2 separate regions of the Homo sapiens genome follow, and region 2 is linked to region 1. The links are contacts of gene promoters, found by promoter capture Hi-C in blood cells and fetal thymus (Javierre and others, 2016). All regions are on one chromosome and are shown on one strand. Each heading gives the region's core, a stretch centred on a gene start or on the middle of the fragment in contact. The rest is flanking DNA. Distances are from core to core; before and after follow the strand shown.

Region 1 (2,622 bases), core at 45-2,544:
TTGTTAAAAAAAAATATAGCCGGGCGCGGTGGCTCATGCCTGTAATCCCAGCACTTTGGGAGGCCGAGGTGGGTGGATCACCTGAGGTCAGGAGTTTGAGACCAGCCTGACCAACATGGAGAAACCTCGTATCTACTCAAAATACAAAATTAGCTGGGTGTGGTGGCACATGCCTGTAACCCCAGCTACTCAGGAGGCTGAGGCAGGAGAATTGCTTGAACCCAGGAGGCAGGGGTTGCGGTTAGCCAAGATCACACCAGTGCACTCCAGCCTGGGCAACAAGAGCAAAACTCCGTCTCAAAAAGAGAGAAAAAAAAAGAAAAATATATGCAAAGTGCATAGAGAAGCTTTATTATTCTCCTTTCATCAGTCTTCCCTCCTGCTCCAGCTTTTTTTTTTTTTTTTTTTTTTTTTTTGATATGGAGTCTCACTGTGTCCCCCAGTCTGGAGTGCAGTGGTATGATCTTGGCTCAGTGCAGTCTCCACCTCCCGGGTTCAAATGATTCTCCTGCCTCAGCCTCCCAAGTAGCTGGGATTACAGGTGCGTGCCATCACGCCCAGCGAATTTTTTTGTATTTTTAGTAGAAACGGGGTTCCGCCGTGTTGGTTGGGCTGGTCTCGAACTCCTGACCTCAAGTGATCCACCCACCTCGGTCTCCCAAAGTGCTGGGATTGCAGGCATGAGCCACCATGCTTGGCCTCTGCCCCAGCTTTCTGATATGACTGGTTCTCAACTGTGCCAGCACATATTAGAATTATCTGGGAAGCTTTAAAAAACAGTAGTGCCTGAGCCCCACTCCAGAATAATTGAATCTGTCTCCCTGGAGGTAGGGCTAGGCATTTATACTTTTTAAAAGCACCCCAGATGTTTCTACTGTGCAGCCAGGGTTGCAAACCACTGACTATAATTTCAAGGGAATTAAACTTGAACAGCTCAAAATGACGTAAGTGTGTAATTAATTACATTCAGCCTCAATAACTGTTTCTAACTGATCCTGGTGGGTGTTGGTCATGGAAAATAGCCAGAGGAAGAAATTAACTGCAAGATCAGAGGAAATTTCTTGTGGTGAGGCAGTATAACACAGCAGAAAGAGCATTTGCTTTGGGTCAGACTTGAGTTGCATCCTGTTGATGCGGGACAGGCAAGCCCCCAAATTGGGGTTTAGCCTGGGAGGGTTCTTAGCTTCACCCAGAAAGGAATTCCAGGGCCAGCCAGTGGTGTTAAATAGCACCTTTTATTGAAATAGCAGTGTGCAGCCGCAGCAGAGGTACTGCTCCTTGCAGGGTAGGGCTACTCCATAGGCAGTGTGCCCAGAGTAGTGGCTCAGAGGCAGTTCTACAGTCACATTTATACACACTTTTAATTATATGCAAATTAAGGGGCAGTTTATGCAGAACATTCTAGAAAGGGGCGGTGACTTCTTGGAGTCGCCATGGCAATGGTAAACTGACAAGGTACACTGGTGGCAGTGTCTTATGCGAGGTACTTCCCACCACACCTGTTTTAGCTAGTCCTCAATTTGGTCCGATGTCCCAGCCATTCCTTTCGAGTCGAGTGCTGCCCCCTACCTCACTGTCACTTGGCCAACTTGGCCCAGTTACAATTGACTTCAGCCTCAGTTTCTTCATCTGTAAAACAGAAACAATAAACCTTTGCAGGGTTGTATGGATTACAGATAATGTATGCTAAATGCCTGCTAGGTGAGTTGGTAGGTGAAGGGCAACCATTAGTAATAGCAAAGACCTTACTTTGAAGAACTTATTCTAAAGAGTGGTAACTGAGATGTGTCCCTGTGATGACCTGCTCAGGCCCAAAATGACTCAAGCTTCTCTGGAAGACAGAATCCTAGGACACAGATCCCAAGCCCTGAGGCTGGGGTGAGAAGGAATTGCGGGAAGGGCCTGAGGATGCAGCAGAGAGAGCAGTGGGGGCTCCTCTGCCTTCCAGGATTGACCAAGGCTGAATGTGAAACTTCCGTGGTCTTAAAGCCTCACCCCAGGGAAGAGGCCCTGTGGCACTGAGGGAGGAGCTCTACACACACGCTGCTTGCGGAAGAGAAGGAGAAGCAGGTAGGGGACTCTGCAAAAAGAGAAAAGGAGAAAAAGAAGAGGATCTTTATTCTCTTTTACCCCCGTGTGCCTGGGATGGAGATGCTTCTCCACCCAGCCTATGGCAAACAATCATTACAGTTCCCAAGTCCACCTTCAGCCACTGCTGAAAACACAGGACTTCACTTGAAAAGTAGTCTCAGAACACTGAAATATGTCCCACTTTCAACATCAAGGAGGACATAATAGTAATCCTTTACTGGGCTCAGCACTTCACAGTTGATCTTGAGCGTTTTGGAGTCCATTTAGGCTTCATAACAATCCTTCCAAGTGGCTGCAGCAGGAGATCCAGTTTCCAAAAGGGAAAACAGAACTGGCTCAAAGGACTAAGAGCCGGAGAGTGGCTGAACCAGGTCTCCAAACTTGATAGGACTCCAAGGCCAGTGGGTGCCTTTTCAAGACCACTAATGACAGCTACCATTTTTTGGGCACATTCTCTGTGCGAGGAAAGCCCTGTAGTAGGTGTTCTATATAGGCTACATAATTTGATTTATTCCACTCCCCTCACAACTC
Region 2 (2,622 bases), core at 57-2,556, 270 kb before region 1:
TTTCTTGAATTTCTTAGCTTCATGGGTACAAGTTCTTCCCCCGACTGGGCTGGGATCCCTCAGGGGAAATGGACCATGTTTATTTCTGCGTCCCCAGGTCATAGCAGAGCATCCTGGTGCATGGAAGATGCTCACTATACATGCTTTTTTCTTTCTTTTTTTCTTTATTCGGATAATATAACTTCTTTCTTTAAAGTTTCGCTTAGTATTTTGTTGTGGTAAAATGCACATAACATAAAACTTACTATGTTAATCATTTTTAAGTGTACAGTTTCCGTGGCATTAAGCACACACATATAGTTGTGCAATCAGTACCACCATCCATCTCCAGAACTTTTTTCATCTTCCCGAACTGAAGCTCTGTACCCATTAAACACTAGCTCCCCATTCTCTGTCCACCCCTCGAGCTTCTGGCAATGGTCATTCTACTTTGTCTCTACAGATAAAGTTTATTTGGAAATAATTTTTCTTTCATGGCCTTGACATTTTTGAAGAGTACAGTCCAGCTCTCTTCTAGACTGTCCCTCCGTCTGGATTTATGTCATTTCTTCATGATTAGATTCAGTTAGGTATTTTTGGCAGAAACATCATAGAAGTGATGCTGTGTCCTCAGTCTATTAAAAGAGGCACAAGATATCAGTTTATCTCATTATTGATCAAATTAACTGACTATATGTTTAAGGGAGACAAGCCAGATTTCCTCACTGAGAGATTCCCTGTTTCTCTTTGCAATAATTAAATGTGAGAAACTTATTTTGAGACAAAGTCTCACTCTGCACTCTGTCCCCCAGGCTGGAGTGCATTGGCACAATCTCGACTTACTGCAACCTCTGCCTCCCTGGTTCAAGCGATTCTCCTGCCTCAGCCACCCAAGTAGCTGGGGTCACAGGAACCCACCACACCTGGCTAATTTTTGTATTTTTAGTAGAGACGGGATTTCACCATGTTGCCCAGGCTGGTCTTGAACTCCTGACATCAAGTGATCCACCCACCTCGGCCTCCCAAAGTGCTGGGATTAAAGGTGTGAGGCTGTGTGAATGATGTGTGCTCCAGGGAAAGTCATAGAATATATCAGTTTCCCCCTCTGTAAAGTGTGGACAGAAGTATCCTAACTGATATTACAGCTTAAGAAAGTAAAAGTGTTCAAGCGGCCTCTGGGCGCCAGCAAAAGAGGCTGGGGATTAATTTCCTGCGCGCTCCACAAGAGGCGGGGCTGGGCGGGGCGGGGGCGAGAGGGAACGAGGGCGCCTGCGCGGAGAGGAGTGACCATAGAGTCGGTCCTCCAGAGACAGAGGGGCCGGAAGTTCTCTTCACGGAGCCGCGCGGCTGCGGGGGCGCAAATAGGGTCAGTGGGCCGCTTGGCGGTGTCGTTGCGGTACCAGGTCCGCGTGAGGGGTTCGGGGGTTCTGGGCAGGCACAATGGCGTCTCGAGCAGGCCCGCGAGCGGCCGGCACCGACGGCAGCGACTTTCAGCACCGGGAGCGCGTCGCCATGCACTACCAGATGAGGTATGAAGTGAGGCGAGGAGCACGGAGGCTTTCTCCCCCGCTGGAGCCTGCGGGGCTTGGGGAGCGACGCCGGCCCGGCCTCAGGGTCTTGCTCCCCAGCCAGCCCCCGCTCACCTGCCAAGTCCCCTCCTCCCGTGACGGCTTCGGGCCTGTCCCCCATCCTGGAAAGCCCCGTGGCCCCCGCGAGCTCCACCCCTTGTTCCGCCCGGTGCCTTGAGGGGATCCAGCCCCGCGTGGGCTCCCGCCCTGCGTGGGCTCCCGAGTCACGTCGATGCTGGCCCCGCTGTATCACCTTCGAAACCGAATTTCTAATTTGAGCCTCAGCTTCCTCATCTGTAGAGGGAGAGAATAATCTGCCTTTTAGGTTTTGGTGAAAGATTAATCAGTAATTCGTGTAAAGAAAGTAGCATAAGGCCTACCACGTAATATATGGTAGGTGTTATATTTTGGGCCGTTTGGGGGGATATAGACAGTAAAAGGCAGCCTTTCCTAAGGACGCCTTGCCTAAAATGAATTTTATAAACACTCCCACGTAAGGGGTATTTCTACATTCAATTACTAGTTCGACAAATACTGAGCTTCCAAACATCATACACTGCTAGACACTAGGTTATAATAGTGAGCAAAAGCAGACGTGGTCTTTGTATACATGTTATACCTTCAATAAACAATTTTATTAAAGAAAAAAAAAACTGTTCCCTGCCTTCATGGAGCTTGAAGTCTAGAGATGACTGTTTTTTTTTTCCAACCTTTCCACATTTTCTACAATAAATATTTTTAAATAAAAATTTTAAAATTTTTACTTCCTTAAATCCATTGATCTCTCCCAGAATGTTCTTCACATCTCTCTCTCCAGAGTTTTAAAGAATGACAAGCTCTTTGAACTCTCATTTGTTTCACATCTCTAGGCCCCGGCTGAAAGGGCCCTCACAACTTAAGCAGGTGTTTTCATGCCAGCCCAGAGTAGAAACATTGCCTTTAGGGATATGAGGAGGATACGTTTGGGACGTGAGAGAATTAGAAGAATAAGATAAGTATGTACTTCTTTTGGATGAAAAAATCTAGCTGGAGAAGTATGGGCGGCCTGAGTACGTTTCCTCTCTGCCAATACCTT

What was found. The method cuts DNA at HindIII sites, captures the fragments that hold promoters and counts their contacts. A CHiCAGO score of 5 or more calls a contact.
Region 2: a contact is called between the fragment with the promoter of JAGN1 here and a fragment that was not itself captured in region 1, in 1 of 17 cell types (activated CD4 T cells). The highest score is 7.6, in activated CD4 T cells.

The regions. Positions count from the first base shown.
Region 1 is chr3:10,159,653-10,162,274 of GRCh38, forward strand. No RefSeq gene overlaps it. Among named protein-coding and RNA genes, the nearest start is that of IRAK2, 4.0 kb to the right of the region's middle. The HindIII fragment of the contact is 1,059 bases long and covers 766-1,824 here.
Region 2 is chr3:9,889,304-9,891,925 of GRCh38, forward strand. It overlaps JAGN1 (jagunal vesicle mediated transporter 1), which reads left to right and starts at 1,307. Exons shown (of 2, transcript NM_032492.4): 1 at 1,307-1,508. The coding sequence starts at 1,420. The HindIII fragment of the contact is 18,772 bases long and covers 1-2,622 here.